Linked DNA regions of Homo sapiens: region 2 is linked to region 1. Evidence: promoter capture Hi-C in human tissues and cell types (Jung and others, 2019). All regions are on one chromosome and are shown on one strand. Each heading gives the region's core, a stretch centred on a gene start or on the middle of the fragment in contact. The rest is flanking DNA. Distances are from core to core; before and after follow the strand shown. Region 1 holds the start of ALOXE3 (arachidonate epidermal lipoxygenase 3). Region 2 holds the start of ZBTB4 (zinc finger and BTB domain containing 4).

The links. The method cuts DNA at HindIII sites, captures the fragments that hold promoters and counts their contacts. A contact is called where the count stands out against the background at its distance.
Region 2: a contact is called between the fragment with the promoter of ZBTB4 here and the fragment with the promoter of ALOXE3 in region 1, in 1 of the 25 tissues and cell types used here (dorsolateral prefrontal cortex).

The regions. Positions count from the first base shown.
Region 1 is chr17:8,114,737-8,120,143 of GRCh38, forward strand. It overlaps ALOXE3 (arachidonate epidermal lipoxygenase 3), which reads right to left and starts at 3,778. Exons shown (of 16, transcript NM_021628.3): 1 at 3,750-3,778; 2 at 3,108-3,567; 3 at 2,040-2,244; 4 at 871-952; 5 at 202-321. The coding sequence starts at 3,254. It overlaps TRK-TTT3-5 (tRNA-Lys (anticodon TTT) 3-5), which reads left to right and starts at 4,419; the gene lies at 4,419-4,491. TRQ-CTG1-5 (tRNA-Gln (anticodon CTG) 1-5) reads left to right here and starts at 5,016; the gene lies at 5,016-5,087. RefSeq lists enhancers at 2,944-4,143, 3,865-3,944, 4,025-4,094, 4,245-4,344 and silencers at 4,865-4,914, 5,045-5,134. The HindIII fragment of the contact is 5,361 bases long and covers 1,293-5,407 here.
Region 2 is chr17:7,475,769-7,480,978 of GRCh38, forward strand. ZBTB4 (zinc finger and BTB domain containing 4) reads right to left here and starts at 3,863. Exons shown (of 4, transcript NM_001128833.2): 1 at 3,688-3,863. RefSeq lists silencers at 3,170-3,219, 3,480-3,939, 3,960-4,219. The HindIII fragment of the contact is 10,425 bases long and covers 1,452-5,210 here.

The DNA of each region.
Region 1 (5,407 bases), core at 2,528-5,027:
CTCTCTGCTCCTGAGCTAAAATAACCTCCTCACTCTTGTCCCCTGTGCCAGACCCTTTGGGGCCATCTCCCATCCTGATGCTTGAATGAAACTGCATTGTCATAGACCCCTACCCCTCCTTCCTGGCTATCAGGACCCCATCCTCCCGACAGACCTTCCACTTGACTTCCTTTCCCCTCCTTCCCAAGCTTTAATCTTCACCTGTCACCCTGGTCTACACAAGTTGTCGTCTTTGTCAAGGCAAATTTCTTGTCTGACTCCATCTCCTGAAAGCTGTTGACGTCTACCATGCAGGGGAAGCCAGGGGCATAGATCTTCCAGCTTCCGAGGGAAAGAGGTCAGAGGTGGCAGGTCATGCTCGGGATAAACACAAGTCTTAGCTTTAAAGACACGGCTTCAGATTAAAACTTCAAAAACCACCTACTTTCTGGATGAGTGACAAGGAATTGGACATTTCTCCATGAAAGCACTGGCTTCACATAGGGTAGCATTTAAGGATGGCATTAATGCCCACACTGGGTTAGAGATGGGTTTGTGTTGAGATTAAAATCATGGCCGGTTTAGTGGGGGAGGCTGAGAAAGGACTGAGATTGGTGGATACTTCAGGTCACTTCTGATATTGGGATCTGGGTTACATCAGGGACAGTTGAGGGCTGAGTATGGATTCATTGGTGGTGTTGGGACAACTGTTACTATTGGTGTTCTCAGTTCAGATTCAGGGTCACTATTAAAGTGGGGTTAGGTCCAAATAAGAGTCCTGATCCAAGCTAGGCACCCAAGGTTGAGAATGAGGTTAGAGTTAGGAACAATCTGATTAAGACTGAGGTCAGGATAAAGATGGGGAAAGAAGTCAAATTAGGCCACCCTCACCGGTAGCATTCTTGTCGGGCCCGGAGCTCCCGTGTCCTGTGATCCAGGAGGAGGGGAAGAGAGTCCTGACAAATAGTTCTTGCTGTGGGGAATGAAAATTACTCTTGGTATAAGTCTCTTTTCCAACAACATCTTCTGCAAACCTTGCCTGAACCCCCTGACCCTTGAACCCAATCCGACAGCCACATCCCTGTGAAACACGTGGCGGTGCCCCCACGTTCTTTGTGTATTCATCAGTAGAAGGGATTCAAGACAGCTTCACCCCCAAATTATAGCAATCTTCCCAATTGTTGGCATGTTTATCTCCCCTCCAGACTATAAACTCCCTGAGGGCAGAAGTCGTCTTGTATTCCTTTTTCTTCTTTTTCTTCTTCTGTATTCCCGGCTTCTAGCATGGTGCCTGGCACCATGTGTATAAGATGCACTTTAAATGACTGATGAACAAATATATTTTGTGAAGCTATGGATGGATGTGCTGTGGAGATGGATGAGAGTTTATAGTGAGGTCTATGGAAAACTTATTACGGACCATGGGGTAATATTCATTTGCCTCACTTTGACCTAGAATATCCCTCCTTCATCCTGAGCCTCCTCCCAACACCCAGAGCAGCCCTACTGTTGCCTCTCCAGATCAGATAGCTCTGGAAACTGAAGATGCTCAAGCCCAGCATCTGCAGAAGGCCCCAGAAATTCAACAAGGAATCCTAGCAGCACCTCTCAGGGACCTCATCCACACTAGAAAAGCTAGTAGTAGGGGAGGGAATGGGGCCTCTCCAGCTAAAATCTCTGAGCAGCCAGGGCTTCTCTACCTGTTAAAATCTAATGACTCAGGGTGCAGGTTAGTTCCTCTCTGGGGTCTGGAGGAACTCACTCTGGAGAAGTGCAGAGGGAGGCTGTGGAAAGCAAAGTGCTTCCTATGTGTATGAGAGAAGGGTGCCTGCCTATATGAGTGTATGTGTCTATGTGAGTCTCCAGAAGAGTCAATACCGTCTGCAAAACCCTCGCATTTCAGGGCTTGAGAGGCTCCCTTTTTTCAGAAAACATCTACTTGGGAGCCCAGAGTTTCTGACCTCAATCTTATTCCCTATACTCTGGGGCTCTGTGAGACCCCACTCCTAATCCCAAAGGACACCTTCTGCAGTACAGTGTAGTCCTCGTCTCTGGCCCACCTGTTCCTGGCCTCAGCTCCACGGTGCAGTAGCCTTCAATCCACTGATAGCAGGGGAAGTGGGATACACTACCATCCGGTTCGGTGACACAGATGCGGCTACAGTACCAAGAGTCCTTGCGGAAGAAAGCGTAGCGCTCCTTGTGTACACGCAGCAGCAAGAGCTCACCCAGCTCCGCTGTGCAACGCACCTTGTACTTCTGTACCTGAGGGGACCAAGACAGCAAGCAGGTGAGAGGCGGGGAACTGCCAAGGCGGTCCTTGCGCCTTGCAAGATGCATCTACACCTAAGCCTATTCGGGCATACAAACCTGAGCTGCTCCCAGCCCATACCGGGCTTTTGTATGAATTAGAAAAAGCTTCCCCGGGCCGGGAGAGGTGGCTCACGCCTGTAATCCTAACACTTTGGGAGGCCGAGGCGGGTGGATCACCTGAGGTCAGGAGTTTGAGACCAGCCTGCCCGATGAAACCGCTTCTCTACTAAAAATACAAAAAATTAGTCGGGCGTCGTGGCAGGCGCCTGTAATCCCAGCTACTTGGGAGGCTGAGGCAGGAGAATCGCTTAAACCCGGGAGGTGGAGGTTGCAGTGACCTGAGATCACACCACTGCCCTCCAGCCTGGGCAACAAGAGCAAAACTCCATCTCAAAAAGAAAAGAAAAAGGTGCCCGAGCACAGTGGGCACTGCATTTCACTAGCTTCCTAGGCCGGCTGGGAACTCTTGTGGAGGCCACCTGGGGCTGGCAGAGGCAGGCAGATCCCCTCGATAAGAGGAAACCCAGGCTCAGAGAGGGGAAGCGACTTGCCCAAAGCCCACGGTCAATTATGGGAGGAGTTTAGGAGCCAGGGGAAGTCCCTCTACTCCCTGTCCAACGCTCCTTCCTCTCCACAGTCCTGCCTGGATGGAGTTCATCATCTCCAGGAAAGACAGGGACCTCAATAGGGAAGGTGAGGAGGTCAGGGCCGGTATCCTGAGTTCAGCAGGATCTCAAGAGTCCAGGAGGAATACTCCTCCCGCCTGCGGCCCCTGCCCCTCTGAGGTCGCGCTTCCCTGTCTCCTTTGTACTCACCGATCCAGGGGCGAAGTCCCTGCCCATTCGATCTAGCCGCTGCTTGGGGCTTTCACCACACGTGCCCACCAGTGTGACAGAGATGTTGTCCAGTGTGCCGGCCCTCAGGTAGGGACCAGTGGTCACACACAGGCGGTACACTGCCATGATGGGAAGGAGGAAGGGATGCCCCGGCAACGCTGGCCGCAGCAGCAGCCGGCCTGGAGGAGAAGAGCGGCACGCCGGACAGGGCTGGGTTTCTGGGCGGAGGGCTAGGGGCTGCGGGGCTGGGTAGGGCTGAGGATGGGCCCAGCTCTCTCTGGGATGTTCCTGGGCTTTCTCTCTCCGAAGCTCCCTGCTGGCGGCTCGGGCTTCCTCTCTCCGCCCACAGTCTTGCACTCTAATACTTGTTTGCTTGCCTCTGACACAGCCGGTCCCTCTGGCTGGCTCACCCAGATGGATATCAGGAGCCTGGGTTCCACTGCGGAGGGAGGGATCAGATGCTGAGATGGAGAAAAGGAGGTAACGCCTGTATAATTGGGACACTGCCCTCCGCCTGGTCAGCGGCCCGGACTGATGCCCTGGAGTGCTTGTCCGCCCACTCCCCAATGTCCCCCAAGATCTGTTCCTCCCCATTCCCAGGCAGAGATGAGCACAGGGCACCTGCATTCCTACGTGTGAATCATCCGTGTGAATCACTAAACAGTGGAGAGTTGCACTTGGTCATAAATCACACGTGACTGCAGCCACACGCAGGTGAGTCGCACACGCATTCCAGCACATGTCAAATGGTCAGGAACAGCTCCCTGTCACCCCATACACCGATCCCCCCACGCATGGCCCTCTTTGTCCCCAGCCTTTGGCACGCCCGACCTCATTCTCTGCTCTGGAGTAGGGCAGGTCAGGAAAGCGAAATACAGCGCCGGCAAACAGGGTCTGAATGCCCCGCGTGGCATTCTTTCCGCTCCAGGACCGCCCTGGGCCTGCAGGATCCTGGGCGGGAGCCCAGGTGTCCGGGATCTGGGCCACTAGGGACTGGGGAGGAACCTCTCAGAGAAGCCCATAGCCCGCAGCGGCCCCGCGCGGCCGGTTCCGGCGCCGCACTGTTCCAGCCTCTACTATGGTACAGTCCCTGCGTCGCAGCCTCGGCGGGGGCTCTAAGAACGGGAGGCAGAAAAAGCTCAATCAGCAGCAGGCGAGCTTCACCCGCTGCTTCCAAATCTGTGCCAAAATATTCTATGCTGCACAGATAAAATCCTCTGTCGGTTCTACAAGCCTGGCTTTTCCTATAGAGAACCCTCTTATAAGCAAAAAGTAAAGCTCTCGTGAAGAGCCCGGATAGCTCAGTCGGTAGAGCATCAGACTTTTAATCTGAGGGTCCAGGGTTCAAGTCCCTGTTCGGGCGGCATGTCTTTGCTTTTGGGTACCGCACTTCGCATAAAATGGTAACAAAAATAGTTACTAGTTTTTAAAGCTAGGTGATACAGAAACTTGATTTCCACAAAATACAGCAAACGACGGTGGAGGGTAATAAACATACTTTAAAACAGTACAAACGCGAGCCGTATTATCGAATTTACATTTTCTGGTAGCCACATTACAAAGAATAAAAAGCAAGCGAAATTAATTTCACGGATCTATTTTACTTACCCTAATATACCAAAATCTTATTTTAACATATAATCAACATTCTAAAAATATTAATGAAATTTTAAGTCTTTTTGTTTGTACAAAGCCTTCCTTCAAAAGAAGATGTGTATTTAGAAGCTGGCAATACATCTGAATTCATATATTTCAAGTGCTCGATAACGGTGTCTACCATATCCAACAGCAGACTTTGTTTTGTTTTCGTTTTAAGTGACGGGTGTGGAAGACACGCAAAATAGAATGTCCAGTAATGTACACAATCTTGAAAGACACCACGAGGGAGGTTCCATGGTGTAATGGTTAGCACTCTGGACTCTGAATCCAGCGATCCGAGTTCAAATCTCGGTGGAACCTTGAAGCTTTTCTTTTAATATCAGCATGTTGAATATTGTTAATTGATTTTCACAGAGGGGATACTCCTATGACCCAAGATAATACGACAAAAAAAAAAAGTAAACTAGGACACTACCAATTATTTGTGCTTTTCCTACCGGATAATTGAGTCCTATAACACAGTGTTAAGAGAACGTACAATAAATTATTTAAATATGTTGGAAGTTGAGCTAACATTTGAAAACATGTTAAAATAGAGATGTTATGAAGAAACGAAATAATAGAGATGTTATGAAGAAACGAAATATTGCTTCAGCAGTTACCATCAGGTCTTAGCTTCT
Region 2 (5,210 bases), core at 2,613-5,112, 640 kb before region 1:
GAGGCTCAGAGAGGGATATACCTTACTCGAGGTCGCACAGCTTGTAAGCAGCAGTCAAGATTCGAATCCAGGCCCAGCTGACCCCAGATGCTCAATCTTTCCCTCTGCCATACTGCTAGACCTGGCCCTGAAGAGGCCTATGGCCCGCCAGCTGGTTACATAAACCACCGCACAAGGTCTCACGTGCTAAGTGCTAAATGTGTCATGTCTGACTCCACCCTTTCCCTCACTTCCACATCCAGCAGTCATCAAGTGTGGCTGAAATCGCCGCCGAGCTTGGGAATGGCTCTGGAAATCTTCCCTTCGATAGCTCAGGTCCTTGTTAACACTCACGTGGTCCAAGGTTATGGCCTCCCAGCTATCCCCTGGCCTCCAGGCTTACCTTCCTCCATCCAGCCCTCCTCCCCCTGAGGGTCAACGTCCCTAACCACAGTTCAGGACTATCACTCCTGGGCTCAAAACCTCCACTGGTCCCCACTGACTCTAGAAGAAAGTTCAAATTCTTCTACCAGGCAGTCAAGGGCTCTGGTCTAGCTCCAATCTTCCTTTTTAATCTTGCCTTGTGTTATCCTCTTCAAACACACAGTACTCAGCGTGAGCCAGGCGTGATGGCAGATACCCATAGTCCCAGCTACTCAGGAGGCTGCAGCTAGAGGATTGCTTGAGCCCAGGAGTTTGAGTCCAGCCTGGGCAATATATTGAGACCCAGTTTCTAAACAAATGAACAAAACCCCAGACACCCAGTGTGCTCTCCAGCTTCTACATGACCCACACCTTCATGCCTTTGCCTGTGCTGGCTTGTTCTGCCAGAAATGCTCTTTCCCCAAGCTTGTCAAAATCCCTCCAAAACGTTAAGATCTGACTCCAAGGCCACCTCCTTCTTGGCCCTCCCTGATCCACAGGATGAGAACGATCATTCCTTCCTCTGACTCATCAACCTTTTGTGCTCCTATGGCCAGCATCCACCTTACACAGCAGCAGAGACTCAGGTTCTCATGCCCTCAGCTGGGGATCCCTGAGCATCCGGGTCTTCTGAAATGGACTGCTGCAAATGCTAAGTTCTGCAGCAACTGGGGAGAAGAGTGTTGGAGGGAGTTGCACAGAAAGGACCATCCACTGAATGTTCCAGAAGGCAGCAGAGTACAGTAGTTAAGAGCACAAGATCTTCAACCTGATTGCCCGGGTTCAAATACAGCTTCACCTCTTACTAGCTAAGTGACTTGGGGCAGATTACTTAACTTCTCTGGACCTCAGCTGCCTCACTTGAAAAAGGGAGGTAGAGTGCCTACTTCAGGGTGTTGTTCTGAGGACAGAGTGGCCACATATAAGTGCCCTGAGGACAGGCTGGTGCACGGTCAGTGCTAAGCAAGTGTGTGCTGCCATTATTATCAGCGAAGCCCCAAGAAGGGAATTCCCAGTCCTGGGGGAGGGCTGACAGGGGCTGGCATAGGCACAGCCCCCAGACTATAGCCACTTTCCGGGTCCGTTTCCCATGTGCTTTTGGAAGATACGCAGGGCAGACAATCAGCCCCATTCTGCAGATGAGGAACTGAGCTTCCTTCAGATCAAGTGCCAGTGAGGGAATGGTAAAGACGCCAGAGCTCCTCAGCCCTGGACCATGGCTCCTTTCTCTTCACCAGACCGTCACTGTGCACCTGTTGAGCAGGCTCCCACGGCAGCCACCCCTTCCCAGCCCCCCATGCCGGAGGGCCTGTCCGCAGCACCCTCCCTTCCCCCACGTACACACATCCTTCCAGTGGGGCCGGGCACAGTAGACAGTGGTGTGCAGGCTTGGAATGCACTTGCACACACACCCCTAGAAGGGCCCAGTCCCCAAAGGTGAGGAAAACCTGTTCTGAGGAATCTGCCTAGTGAGCGAATTCTGTTCTGAGGCCCTTCCACCGTCGCAGGAGTGGGGCCCAGTGTGCGTCAGAGATACCCACAAGGGGGGCAGAGAGAGGGAGAGGGTGAAGCAGGAGGAGGCTGAAAACTTCACGTTTCTTTTTTCCATTTTAGTGACAAGAGTCACACCCAGCCTTTACATAAACATGGCCAAGGAGCCTCTCTGTCTAAGCTTACTTCCCTTGTGGCCGCCCAGCCTCTCCTCCGGGTGACCCTGACACGCTGGGCAGGCTCATGAGGGGCAAACATACAGACCCTGCAAAGATTAGCTGGGCCATCTGACAACACCCATGCCTCCCGCCGGCCTCCATGCGCTACCCTGCATTTATCTCCCGCCTTCCTCATACCAAATCCCCTCCGCAGCCCCACCGCCACTTAAGCACACAGACGGCAGGCACGCACACACAGCCTGCTTGCGGCTGGCCTCTTGGGTCTGAGGCCCACACTGCCCTTGTCACGCCACCTCCCTCCCCACATGTGTTTTCTGACCAGTTTGCCTCCCAGCTCAGCAGCCCAGACAGGCTCCTACAAACAACGTCACAAAAGAATCCTGTGGAGAATGTTGCAAACACACAACCTTCCCCTCGCTTGGCTGCCCATGATCCCATAAACACAACTGGCGCATTCCACCTCGAGCCCCTCACACCAGTGCCAACTGACCCACAGGCCCCTGAGACATACCCCGGGGTTCCTCGCTCCTCTCATGATCTTTGGGATCTGAGTTCTAGACGCGCAGCCCCCATGCAACGCGCTCATCACAGACACGCAAACCCATCCATCGCCCTCTTCACCACTGGACCACACCTCAGCAGGGCCACAGAAATGGGACCCAGACGTGACGCCTTCTGACTCAAAGGCCCACAACCGCCCCCTCCAAAAGGGCACATACACTGCATCCTGGCACCCTCCGCAACACATACAGCATGCCAGCTCTGCAGAAAACAGTTCATAAACAGGTCATAGGTGCAGCACAAGACACACATGCGAGAAAACACATGCTGTAGAAAACATACAGCCCCACATCGAACAAACTCTGCACCCAGCATGCTGTGCCCTGCTCAGAATACCCATCTGTCACCCAAAGCCACAGGGCTCGTCTTGTAACTCTGCCCCACAACACTGGACACCCTTCCTGGCTTTCTATCTCCATGGCCCAGGGAGGGCCCTACCCAGACCCCTGGCTGCCAGCAAACGGTGGTGCCCAGGAGAGGTTTACCTTGCCCCACCACACAGCACAAGACACACGATCTCCAAGACTCACAGCCACAACCCTGCCCCGACGGCGCGGCGGTTCCGGGGCCCCAGCTCGCCCTGCGCACCCCGCACACCCCAACTCTGGGGCGCTCGGCGGCCCACCCCTCCCCCTCTCTGCCTGGCTCCTACGCCATCACCCTCCCAGCAGCTTGCAGCGCTTGCCCGGGCTCACACCCGCCCCACCCCACCCCCAATCTGCCCCACGGGGGGAGGGGGCCATTAGGCTGCAGAATTAACCCTTCAAAGAGGGAGTGAGCACCTCCCCTTCCACGGCCCCAGGCGATCGCGTCCCACGGCCGCCCCTCGCTCGGACGCCATACCAGGGCCCCCTTAGTCGCCCCCCAGCGTCGTGCGCGCCCGGGGGCGGGGCCAGGCTCAGCCCCCGACCCCTGCGCCCCCAGGTCAACCCCAAAGGAGAGCGGTCTGGGCGCGGGGCGCGGTCGGGGCTCCCGCAGCGCCGGGCAGCGGAGAGGGGGCCTGGCAGTTGGCTCCGGTCCGCCCTGGCCCTGCCCAGTTCGCCCCAGGGCCCACCTGACTGCGATGGCGCCGCGTCCGCCAGGCCCGGCTCATCACCGTGGCCGCCCCCGGCCGCTCCGGTTTTGCCCGCCTCCAGCTCCGGCTCCGGCTCCAGCTCCGGCCCTGGCCCCCCCAGCGCCTGGCCCCGGCCCGGCCCCGCTGCCGCCGCCGCCGCCGCCGCTGACATCATCGGCTCCCCCCGCCCCGGTCCTACCCCCACCCCCACCCCCGGAAACAGTCCCCCCCCAGCGCCGCCGCCGCCGCCGCCGAGAGGAGGCCGGCGCAGCGCAGCCGACACCGACACAAAGCTCCGAGCGCCCGACGGCCTTCCCCAGGACTGACCCCCGCGGCATGACACTGCGCCGCGCTGGGCCACCGGGCGGGTGGACACCGAGCGGGGCGCGGGCCGGGCTGCAGCATCCCGGCAGGGGCGCAAGACCACCGACCCCCAGGGAAAGGGCTCCCTCCGCCCTTCCTCCTGCACGCCCTTCACTCAGCGGTGCACACTGCCTGAAAGCATAACACACAGGCTCTCAGGGTGCAGACATGACATGGCAGACTCATAATCAGGCCCGGTGGGACTCACAGACCCAGGGTCGGCACACTCAAAGAGGGCCAGCCCTGGACACACACACACACCCTCTCCAGGAATGCGCAGGAAAGCTCAGCAGGCCGCGGAAAAAGAAGGCCCTGGCCCTGCATACGGGGCACACACGAACGACCACCAGCGCAAATGAACACATGAAGCTGGCTGGGTACTTTGTCCCCACCAGCAGATAGATCCACATCTGTATACTTGAACATAAATGCAGAGGCCTTGGTGTCGGCCTCTGGGGACAGCATCAACAAAACACCAGGTGGAAGCACACACAGAAAAAACACATTCCTGAAACTCCACAGGGACAATCCCAAGAACTCCTCCCTGGTGCTGGAAAATTAAAAACTAAGGAGATGGAGGAGCCAGGGTTCACAGCTCCTTGCCTTAAAACCTCTCTGAGGCTGGGCGCGGTGGCTCACGCCTGTAATCCCAGCACTTTGGGAGGCCGAGGTGGGCGGATCACGAGGTCAGGAGATCGAGACCATCCTGGCTAACACGGTGAAACCCTGTCTCTACTAAAAATACAAAAAAATTAGCCGGGCGTGGTGGCGGGCGCCTGTGGTCCCAGCTACTCGGGAGGCTGAGGCAGGAGAATGGCGTGAACCTGGGAGGCGGAGCTTGCAGTGAGCCGAGATCTCGCCACTGCACTCCAGCCTGGGCGACAGAGACAGACTCCGTCTCAAAAAAAAAACAACAACAAAAAAACCTCTCTGAAACCATGCAAGATATAAATAAACAAATTAATGTAAAGCCACAGAGCTAGCCATAAAAAGAATAAAAGAATCAGACAAACTTTGGAGTCATGGAGACATAAATAGAAAAGAAGCAGAGTTGGGCTGGGCACGGTGGCTCATGCCTGTAATTCCACCACTTTGGGAGGCGGGGGGTGGTGGGGTGGATCACTTGAGGTAAGGAGTTCAAGACCAGCATGGCCAACATG